Linked DNA regions of Homo sapiens: regions 1, 2 and 4 are each linked to region 3. Evidence: promoter capture Hi-C in 16 types of primary human blood cells and fetal thymus (Javierre and others, 2016). All regions are on one chromosome and are shown on one strand. Each heading gives the region's core, a stretch centred on a gene start or on the middle of the fragment in contact. The rest is flanking DNA. Distances are from core to core; before and after follow the strand shown. Region 1 overlaps LOC100506236 (a long non-coding RNA gene). Region 2 overlaps LOC105375199 (a long non-coding RNA gene). Region 3 holds the start of HOXA10-AS (HOXA10 antisense RNA). Region 4 has its middle 52 kb from the start of MIR148A.

Evidence for each region. The method cuts DNA at HindIII sites, captures the fragments that hold promoters and counts their contacts. A CHiCAGO score of 5 or more calls a contact.
Region 1: a fragment that was not itself captured here is called in contact with the fragment with the promoter of HOXA10-AS in region 3 in 1 of 17 cell types (naive B cells); the score reaches 8.1 in naive B cells.
Region 2: a contact is called between a fragment that was not itself captured here and the fragment with the promoter of HOXA10-AS in region 3, in 1 of 17 cell types (fetal thymus). The highest score is 5.3, in fetal thymus.
Region 4: a contact is called between a fragment that was not itself captured here and the fragment with the promoter of HOXA10-AS in region 3, in 12 of 17 cell types (M1 macrophages, monocytes, fetal thymus and 9 more). The highest score is 10.6, in M1 macrophages.

What each region holds. Positions count from the first base shown.
Region 1 is chr7:25,829,857-25,832,556 of GRCh38, reverse strand. LOC100506236 (a long non-coding RNA gene) reads left to right here. Exons shown (of 3, transcript XR_108752.5): 2 at 608-791; 3 at 998-1,266. Among named protein-coding and RNA genes, the nearest start is that of LINC03007, 41 kb to the right of the region's middle. RefSeq lists an enhancer at 1,885-2,457. The HindIII fragment of the contact is 4,145 bases long and covers 1-2,700 here.
Region 2 is chr7:25,947,024-25,949,723 of GRCh38, reverse strand. The region is part of intron 6 of LOC105375199 (a long non-coding RNA gene); the gene reads left to right. Among named protein-coding and RNA genes, the nearest start is that of MIR148A, 1.6 kb to the left of the region's middle. RefSeq lists an enhancer at 1,628-1,697. The HindIII fragment of the contact is 2,684 bases long and covers 68-2,700 here.
Region 3 is chr7:27,167,598-27,170,323 of GRCh38, reverse strand. It overlaps HOXA10-AS (HOXA10 antisense RNA), which reads right to left and starts at 1,425. Exons shown (of 3, transcript NR_046609.1): 1 at 1,331-1,425; 2 at 560-1,017. All of the region lies in intron 1 of HOXA10-HOXA9 (HOXA10-HOXA9 readthrough), which reads left to right. It overlaps MIR196B (microRNA 196b), which reads left to right and starts at 761; the gene lies at 761-844. RefSeq lists enhancers at 559-1,149, 1,150-1,740. The HindIII fragment of the contact is 2,254 bases long and covers 1-1,976 here.
Region 4 is chr7:25,896,886-25,899,585 of GRCh38, reverse strand. No RefSeq gene overlaps it. Among named protein-coding and RNA genes, the nearest start is that of MIR148A, 52 kb to the left of the region's middle. The HindIII fragment of the contact is 3,378 bases long and covers 1-2,700 here.

The DNA.
Region 1 (2,700 bases), core at 9-2,508, 1.3 Mb after region 3:
CCGGGGAGAACAAGCAGAGCATTGTTTCAGCGATGAAAAGAAAAACATCCTCTGATTTTCCAAGTTTGTTCTGAACCAAATTTTTGGTTGAAATAGAAAGATGTATTTTTTTTCCTTTTCTTGCCACCCTTCTTTATTTTTTAACCCATTTTTTAATGAAGCTATCTAAGTGGATGTTGAAACAGTGAATGTTAAGAAAGAGTACATTTCCTATGTAAACAAACACAACCCGGCTTAGAGAGAGAGGAAAGCAGTCTTGTCAACCCGAAAGGAACCCAGCACATGGTAATTTTTGTAATTGAAGTATCCCAGGGATTCCAGGGTACATGAACAATCCATAAAACAGGAATGAGACCACACAAAAACACAACCATGGCTCCAGGCGGGCACTGTTGAAAAGAAGCAGACTTTTAGCAGTAGGAAGCAGGGAGCTTGCATCAGAGGATCTTTGTAAATGCCCCTCTAAAATTAAAGTCCTCTCTAAGCTCCTTCCAGGTAAAAATGTTGTTTACTGGGGCTGAAGGCTGTGAAACACGAGCAATATAGAGAGGAAGACAAAAAGACTGGTGAGGTCATGACCTTGAGCCTTTTTGTTTTCTTTCTCAAGGTCTTTTACATGCATCGTTGGATTGCAGTCTCAAGCCTGGGATTCCAACGGAATTAACGTCCATTGAAAACTTACTGTGCTCAAGGCACAGAACGGGGTAGTTTTATACACATTCTCCCATTTGGATTTTTCAAAGACAACATCTAATCATCCCCAGAGAAATTTCAGCTGAGAAGACAGGATGGTGAGACAGTTCCTAAGTCTTTCCTAGACACAATTGTCTTTGCAAGTCCTCTGCCACAGTCAAAGGTGCTTTCTTGCCTACCTACTGGTAAAATCCTTGACTGTCCGATTTCTCTAAATAACTATAATTGGAGCAATCAGATCATTAAAAAAAAACAGCAGGAGAGATGTTAATGTTCTAAAATACAGTTTCCATTCTAATTGCAGATGAAGTGCCCTGGGGGCCAGAGTCCAGACAAGTATTTTGGCACCTCCAAGGACTCGCAGAACACAGAGAGGAAAAGAGAGACCCTGTTATCTTTCCGCAGGGGTGGCCGTTCAAACTCTCAGAGATGGAAGTTAAGATTTCCTTTGGTATAAGTGGCAGTTTGACTGGCTGCAAGGAGAGCCTCAGTTTGTTTAATTTGGAGTAAAATTTTATGAGTTAATCTCTAGTGAGGGAAAGCAGCAGTAAACACAGAACATACTGGTCATTATTCTAAGTATTTCTACATTCTTTCTCATGCATGAAAGGAGAAAAAAAGTCACAAAAATGAGGAGGCATGGTGCTCAAACATGTGTGTGTGTGTGTGTGTGTGTGCGCGTGTGTGTGTGTGTGTGTATGATTTTGTTTTGATCAAACCATCTGGTGTGCAGCATACCCCAGGATGTGAAGGCAAACATTTACCAAGAGATTCACATGATTTCTGCTGTGTATACTCATATTTGTAGAAGACGCTTATGTTTTCAGAAAGTGGAGATAAACATAGATCTCTCTGCATTTATTAATGCAGCCCCAGTTCTTTGCAGACCAAACCGTTATTTATTTTAGTGGGCCTTAGAAACTCAGGTGTGTTAAAAAGCCAGAGAGACATGCACAATCTGGAAATGATCAGTGTCATGCCTGAGGAAAACATTACCGTGCTCCTCAAGTTTAATAATATGGGCAAAAAATTCAGGGATATTGCGATACGATGGTGTGCTGAGAAGTGGATTAAATCTCGATTAAATCACAACATAAATAATGCCTTAACTAAAAATGTTAAAGGCGAACTTGAAATGGTCTTAAAAACAAAAGAGGTAATTTACCTGATTTATTAGGGGAGAGAAAAAGTAGCTTGGTGTGTGTTCTGTGGATTTCATGTTTAATGGGATGGACTTTTAGGGAAATGGCTGGGGATCTGAGGAAGCTAAACGAAAAACCCCTATATGCTGGCTGGAGTTTTAAGAAGATAGAGGGAGGGAAAAATCACCCATCAACCAACCAACCAAACCAAACCAAGAGTCTGAGTGCCCCAGCACTGGAAGCAAGACAATTGTTTCCTAGGGGACTCCTGGCTACCAGGAGACTGCTCAATAAGGGAGCGCTTAAACTTCAAAAAGGAAAAAGCAGATTTATTAGGAGGCACACATGAGGCTTTAAGGGAATGCTCCTGGTAAGTGGGACTCCTGCTGTTCTCATTCTTGTGCCTTTGTATTGCTGAAAACCCTTCTGCAAGATCCAAATATGCCTTTGGTTTTTTTTTTTTTTTTCCACGTGTGTTGTCACTTGAACATTTTGCACCACCCATCTCTCTGAAAAGTTCAGGATGTAGGGTACTTCCTTTTGAAGGTCTCTCAATTCTTCATAAGGAACTGATCATATTCAGCTTCACTATGGGGGGGCAGTCCTGGGGTGGGCTGGGGGTGCTGGCACACATGTTCCTAGTGGGTCATGTGTCCCCGTGGGCAAAGGATAACACCTCTTGGGGCTCAGTTTCCTCATCAGTAAATAGAGAATCTGCTCTTTAAGGGCCTTGCCAGGTCTAAGATCCTGTGATTCTCAGTAGGCCAGAAAACACAACTTCTGAGCAATCAAACCTCTGAGTGACAGGATGGAATATTTTGCCAAAGGTCATGCAGCAAATGCTTGTCAGTCCTAAAGAGAACTT
Region 2 (2,700 bases), core at 160-2,659, 1.2 Mb after region 3:
CTTCATCTTACCCTGGTGGACTCCTGACTGTAGAATTTTTTGGTTTAAAGAAGAAAAAAATAAAGCTTTGGACTTTTCAAGGTTGCTTAACAGGTACTGAAAGACTGGCCTCACTTAAACTGAGCCAGGAGAGCTGCAGATTTATTAATGGGTGTGTTAGTGTGCAGTGCCTTGCAGGAATTTAAACTCTCTACCCTTAAAGAAGGAAATGTATTTGTACAAAAGCCACAGATAATGGTCCTTTTACTCAAGCGACCTGCTGGATAAATGACAGCCTGCAGGGATTGAGTTTGGAGATCTAGTCTCAATTCTGCTTCCGATTTAGATGCAGTTCACTTTTGTTTTTTAAAGTAAGTTTTATTAATGGAAAGGAAGAACTTTTTCCAAGAAAGCATTTTGAAAGCCACTGGGGGAGGGGGACATTTATGCTTTTGGGCTGTGGAGATCCTTTAGGTGGAGAGACTGCTCTCTCATCCCTAGTGGAATGGAGGTTTGGGTTGGTGAGTTTCTATCAATAGCCTGCTCTCTATAGTGGGTCAGTGACTGGCACCAAATTGTAGTCCTGTTCCATGGACATTGCCCTGTTTTGGTTTTATGAGCTTTTGGCCAGGCACAGGACGCAGGGTGGTAGGGAAAAAAGGAAATGGTTCCTGTGCCCGTGGTGCTGACAGGTAAGGGAAGGGCCTTCTGATGTATTTTATGGGATGCTTCAGAAACCTGGGGGTTGCTTGTGTCTCTGGGAAGCCCTTGGTAAAGAAAGCCACCATTTTTTTTACTTAGGTATATTCCAGTGGTTTATCATCGGGAGAGGGATGATAATGGAGGAAGGCTCAATGAGGGAGAAAGTATTCAGCTGCTTGATGTTAGAGCTTAATGGCAGGACCTACCAGTTGCTTTTCACAGAAATGCTGTGTATTGATCCTAAGGCAGCATGTGTTCTCTTTTGTGTGGCCATTATCCATTCTCCCACTTTTCCATCAGTGACTGCTTTGCTTTTGTTCCTCAATCCTTTACCCAAAAATGGCTGAATTATTTCTGTGCAGTTAAATAAAGTGATCCAAACTCAAGTACGTCTTGTGTTCATTTGAGATGTAAGGTATGCTTACTTGAGGAAGAGGATTCTCTTTCCTAGTTCTTATGTCTGTACATCTCCACAAGATAGTCTGAATATACTGAATTTTAAGAAAACTTAAATCAACTTTGTAAGAGAATGGGAGGTAAAGAGTGGAGCGGTTGACTGGGAGAGTAGTCATCCATACAAAGGAATTAGGTCAGGATCTCTCACCTCCAGAGAAAGGCAAGGTTTGGAGTCCCTGACATGATTCAGTCTGGTTTGACTTCTATGCTTAAGTGATTTGCATTTCTCCTGTTTGTGACCACAAGTGAGTTAAGGACTAACCAAGCAGGAGGGCTGTGGTTTACTCTGGTGCTAAGGATGCCAGGAATAGGAACTGGGAAAATCGGCAGTCTTGGGGTGCTTACTGTAAACCTGGCATGGTCTCATAGACCTCAGTCGTTTAGCAATCAGTGTATTTTCACCTCCCGAGCATCAGGTGTTACTCTAGACGTTACGAATGCAACAGTGAACAAAATAGGCCCCGAACCCTGCCCTCTTGGAGGTCTTTCTCATGCAAGAGGTAGACAATACAAATATAAAATAATCAGAAGGGTGATAAACGTCAGGGAAGGAAGAACAAGGAACGCTGGGGAGGCCGTGGTGTTCATTTAACCCAGATCGCTGGGCAAAGGAAACCATCACTAGCAACCTACTTTGCATGGCCTTGGCACTCCTGTCTTTATTTTAGATACTTTATGTGAATGAACCAAACAGGTGCAGCTGAAACTTTAGTCATGCATTGCTTAATGATGAGGATAGGTTCTGAGAAACGTGGTGTTAGGCGATTTCATTGTTTTTGCAAACATCACAGAGTGAGTGTTCTTAAACCTGGGTGGTAGAGACTACCACACACTTAAGCTGTATGCCATAGCCTAGTGCTCCTGGGCTACAAACCTGTGCAGGATGGTACTGTACTGAGTGCTGTAGGCAAATGTAACACAATGGTAAGGATTTATTTAACCGTACAAAAGGTACAGTAAAAATACAATATAAAATGTAAAAAATGTTACACCCATATGGGACACTTAGCATGCATGGAGCTTGTGGGACTAGAAGTTGCTCTGGGTGAGTCAGTGAGTGGTGAGTGAATGTGAAGGCCTAGGACGTTACACTATTGTAGACTTTATAAATATTATAAACTTAGGCTACACTATATTTAAAAAAAATGCTATGACATGACAGCTGTGACATCATTAGGCTGTAGGAATTTTTCAGCTTCATTATAATCTTACGCGACTACTGTCATATATTTGGTCCATTGTTGACTGAAATATCCTTATGCAGTGCGTGACTATCACTCAACACTGAAAGCCTTTAATTTTTTAAAGAACATTTTAAATTTCAAATGCAAGGGTTGGGAAATATGGGGGGGCGTGCAGAGGAGCTGGGAAGCCATGGTGCTGGGTCACTGATTCCCCATTTTATATAATCTCCCACCACATCTTCCAGAAGTAAAATTCTAGGATTCGACATAACTTGCATTTCAAAGAGTGTTTATGCCAAAGAATTCGAGTGCTTTCAAATATTCTTTAAATAGTTGGGAGCGGGGTGGACGACGTATTTGTTGGGATCCCACAAGAGTG
Region 3 (2,726 bases), core at 176-2,675:
AAACAGGATTTCTTTCGGGAGCCCCAGGGAGGCTTGCAGAGGCCGGTTATTTTGCGGGTGTCTGGGTCACAGATGACCCTCAATCTGAATCGGGGAGCAGGCCTGGCCCACAGCGCATCTCTAGCCGCTGGAGGCAGCGGTTAGGTGGACCCGGGCTGGACTGCATGGGGGCCTCCCCCTCCCCCAGTACGGCCTCCCCCACCTGGCGGCACTCCTTAGGGCCACGCGTTTCCTGCTTGCCAGAGTGGGGGGGGCGGGGGCTAAGGGGAGGGGGCGCAGGAGCGCGCGCCCCGGCGGGCGGGCAGCTAGGAGGGAGAGGGGGAGAGCGAGAGGCGGGAGGCCGGGGCCAGACAGGGAGCCGGGATCTGTACCGTCCCTGGCGCTTTCGAGCCTTCCACGGCTACCGCCTCTTGGCGCCGGCTCGCTGGGCTGCAAGATTTGGGAAAGCGGCGCGCACACTGCTTCTCGGAGCTGCTCTCGTCTCGCCTGCTCCCCGCCTTTATTCCTCTCTCCCTGCCTTTCCTCCCTCTCTTTTCCTCCCTCTCCCTCCCAGGAATACCTTACTGGGGCCTGTGGCTTCCCCTTCCTTGACGCATTTGCGGCCGCCTGGGGCACTCTGTTGCACTGGCGGGCGCAGGTTGCCTAGGGGCTGGGCTGGGCCGGGCCAGGCGCGATGGCAGGGTTCTCTCCTTGGCGGCGGCGGCAGCGGCGGAGGCGGCGGCGGCGGCGGGCGAGGCAGCCCTTCGCGGGCAGCACCAGAACTGGTCGGTGATTTAGGTAGTTTCCTGTTGTTGGGATCCACCTTTCTCTCGACAGCACGACACTGCCTTCATTACTTCAGTTGAAATCGTCTCCAGGTACCTCTGCGCGCGGGGGTCGGGCCGGGCGGGGCATCACGGCCCTGGTCGTGCCAGGCCTGCGGTGGCAACCTCGGCTTTCCCTGCTCAGGAGCCTCGTGTCTTTCTCCGCAGCGCTTTGCCAGCCGGCCGGCTTTCCCCTTCCACCACACACCTCCACCTGGTCACAGCAGGTAGGGTTAGGTTGGCTGCTCCTTCGCGGACGCCGGGGGCGTGGTAGGAATTCTGGGCTTTGGGCCATTCAAGGTCAGGGGCGCCCGCTTCCATCCTGAGCCTCCCACTGGAGGCCTGCGCCTGCCCAGGGACCTCCTGCCATTCTCTTGTAAGGCTGGAACACACACACACACACACACACACACACACACACACACACCAGTCCCGGGTGTGAGCTCAGGAAAGAACCTCCTTCCAGTGGAGACTCAGGCTGGACTAGGAAGGATAGGGCAGGCTGGGATCCTGGCCTTGTCACTTACCCTTCTCTCTGTAAGCTCGGCCGCTGCTAGGAGTCGCCTCTCTTTTCTTCCTTCTTTTCCCTGTCTTCCCTTCCTCTTTTATCTCTTCTTTCTTTTTTTCTTCTTTCCTTTGCTCCTTCCTGCTTTCTTTTCTTCCGTTGGTCTTTTTTTCATCTTCCGTCTCTGCCAGATTCTATCTCACCTCCTTATCTCCTTCCCAAAGCATCCTTGGGGAGGGGCCCAGAGCTGGCTTCAGGAGAGCCTAGGGGGTCTCACTTTCCTCTGCGGCTCAAGTAGAGGTTGGGAAGTCTGCCGAGGAAGGGCCCGCGTGGGGCGGCTGCCGAGGGCGGTGGGTTTGGGCCTGGTGTGTTACTCTGCAGACAAGGCCTCGGTTATGATCACGACCGGATGGCGGCAGCCTTGCGTTTCTTCGCCTGTCGCTAACGGCTGACTAGGAGATCTGATTAGGGGACATTCGCTGCAGCTTTGTGTGCCCATATCGAGGGCAGGGAGGCCTTCGCCAGCCTCACTGGGGACTGGAGCTGAGGCCCAACCAGCCTCGCTGGAGCCTGGCCATTCGCTGGGAAGCTCTTAGCTGGCTCTTCCCGGCCTGCCGGTCACAGCTTGGGGTTTGACCGCATTGAGGGAGACTGGCTAGGGCAAAGCTTGACTGCTTGCTTACTAGTGGCTTCCATTAGGTACAAAATATGTTCCATACAGCACCTTTGTGCAGCTGGGTGCTGGAGAAGGGGACCCTTCCAAGAGCCAGTATGTTTTAAATGGGCAAAAAGAATCCCAAATTCCAGAGCCATTGATATAAACTTGAGTCATCGTTCCAAATTGTAGTCTACAGATGGGAGCCAGTCTGACCATTTTCCCTACAGAAAACAGAAAACAAACTATCTCTCCCTACTCCCAACACACACAGTTACAGATTCGTGCCCACAAAGCTGTTTCCTTTCCCTGCCTGGACTGGAGGCCCAGGAACTCTTTCGTTGCACAGCCACCGACCTGCTGTCTGAAAGGACCACACACCCCATTCCCTTCAACTCCTCCCTGCCATTTTCTGGACCAGGGCATTGGATTTATTTCAGAGATCACAGTTTCAGAAATCTCAGTCGAGAAGGGGCCGCTTTAAATTATACTCATTTATTATTTCTTTATGCATACGCAATCTCTTTCACTTCGAAAATAAAAGCAGACAAAAAAGTCAGACTATTCTGGCTCCAAACCTTTGGGCTGAAGGAAGACAATATTTGGTTTTCTGATTTTTCTCCGCTTTCTAGGCACCAGTAACATCTGCTTAACACTCAACGCCTGCTAATTGTTCAGTAACTCTCTTATTTTGGGGCTAAGGCTGTTTAAAGGAACAGCTTTTTTACTTAAAAAATACTGAAATAATCAGTGTCTTCTCAGG
Region 4 (2,700 bases), core at 67-2,566, 1.3 Mb after region 3:
ATCCTGTCTCTACAAAAAATAAAAGATTAGCCAGATTTTGTGGTGCATGCCTGTAATCCCAGCTATTCGGGAGGCTGAGGCAGAAGGATGACGTTAGCCCGGGAGGTTGAGGCTGCAGTGAGTCATGATCATGCAGCTGCACTCCAGCCTGAGTGACAGAGCAAGACCCTGTCTCTAAAACATAAAAATAAAAAAAAAAAAAACACTTTTCATTACCAGCTTAGTTTGCATAATCCAAGACAATATACAACTTTATTTCACATATTAAAGTTAGGCAGGCTCACCTGGGATTCAGATGCTGCAGAATTTTTTGGGGGTAAGCTCAGAAAGAGATGGGAGAAAGTATGCTAATAAGAAAGTCACCTATCTCTTATATTTAAGAAGGAAACCTTAAGTCAATATTTCCATAAAATTTTATTTTTTGTTTATAATTTACATTATAAACCCAGTTTCTAATTTTAGCACGGAAATTTAGGTACCAGTAGCAACAGATAGGTGCCTTGCCATAATAAGTCCTCATATTTTGCATTTACAGAGCATTTTCACGTTCATTACCTTATTTTGGTAGTCTGTTCCCAATTTTTATTCTTGCTGCTAAGGGTTTTCTGCGATGTCACAGAGCTACATAATAGGAGAATCCAAATTCAAGGCCAGGTCTCCTGACTCCCAGTCTAAGCCCTTCCCAAACCTGGGCCACACCACCTGTTTCAGTGGAGGTGTCTATTGTGTAGGCCCAGAGGCAAACACAGCTATCCTGGATGTGGATGAGGGCACAGCAAGCCAGCCAGTCTCACTCACTGTGGTGGGAGCACAAACTGATATGCATCCTTTGGAAAAAGCAATTTGGCAAAATGTATTGAGAACCTTAATACTGTTTCTACACTTTGACCCAGTAATTCTACTTAAAGGAATCTATCCTAAGAAATTAATGTGATATTAGCCGAAGGTTTACATAGAAATATGTTTACTGGAATGCTACTTATAATTCCAACAATAAAAGGTTAGTTAAGAACATTGTGGTTCTGGGTGCAGTGGCTCATGCCTGTAATCCCAGCACTTTGGGAGGCTGAGGTGGGTGGATTGCTTGAGCCCAGGAGTTTGAGACCAACCTGGGCAACATGGCAAAACCCTGTCTCTACCAAATAATACAAAAATTAGCTGGCATGTTGGTGCACACCTGTGGTCTCAGCTACTCAGCAGGCTGAGGTGAGAGGATCACCTCAAGGGTGTAGTGAGCCATGATCATGCCACAGCACTCTAGCCTGGGTGACAGAATGAGACCCTGTCTTAAAAAAAAAAAAATTATGGAAATAATGTGAAAATATTTATTATATAAGATCAAATGAAAAAAGTCATCATCCAGATAGAATAACTAGCAGAGAAACAAGATGTATACCAAAATGTTAAGGCCTAACTGTGACTAATGAGATTACAAATACAATTTTTTACATTTAATACCCATTTCCCATGTTTTCTATAAATAAGATGTAATTTTATAATCAGAAAAAAAGATTATATTTAAAAATTTTTAAATTATAAAAGCAGCCAGTGAGACTAAACACTAAAAATAAAGAGTGATTTGGGGATTAAAAATGGTCATTTTATCTAGATTGGTTCATAAACTGTATGGTTCATGTTCAGGAAAAACTAACAAACAAAAATATGGTGCTAATTTGTTACATTTCCAAGGAGAAGATTAAGGATGTATGATTTAAAGATGAAAACCACAATTGCAATAGAGCATGTGGCAAATATTTCAAGCTAGCAAAGTTTGACTAGGTAGTGGAATCACTTTCATGACTAAAGAAAGCTATACTGAATGTGTAGGAGTGAGGCTCTAGGGAGCCTCACTAGGAGAAGCTCTTGCAAGATCCCTGCACCATGTGGTAAGCTGGTTTCTTCCTCCGTGGTCTTTGGCCCTGGCTTGTTTTGTGTGATAAAAAGGAAGAGTCATCGGAGAGCTTCATATACAGCGAACACAACCTCAGAGATACTTTGGAGCTTTCTGGGTGGGGGAGAAAGACGTGGCAAAAGCAGCTGAAGGATTCAGGGTTAACACTTTGCCTTTTGAAGAGACTTCAGTTCTTGGAGGGCTTCCAGTCTGAATTTGGGGAATTCATCAACAGGAAAACAAATAGCTGGCAGGCTCTGTATTTACTCTGCCCTTCTCAAGGTTGCAACATAAATCTCCCAACTTGGAAAGCATTAAGGCCGAGGAGACATTTTGTGAGTTCAGGGACTCTCCTCCAGTCTGCATGAACCACGTCTACCCTCATTTCGGGAAAACACAGGCACCAGCCCTCAAGGTGCTGCGGGAGACAGTACTGACACTGTTTGACTCGCTTGGGGCAGACTGGGGAAATGAGAGCTGGAAAACTTGAGTTCTCAAGTGAGAGCTGTTGGTCTGCTTTGGAAAAAACCCACTTACGCCAGGAGAATGAAAGCCCTGAGAAGTTCTCACTGGGTGAGTTTATGGCAGGCTTGCCATGAAAAATACCCAATGGTTCTTTGATGGTGCCCGAATTGTAATATAGCTAGATCAATTCTGGAAGCAACCTTCTTCAACACCACTGGAATATGTATGCTCCCATGCCCAACGTTTCCAATTAGCAGAGAAGCTAATGCTGGAAACCATTACATATAATCCAGAAAAACTGTCTATGTAACATTATAAAAATTGAATATGTGTCAGAAGTGGAT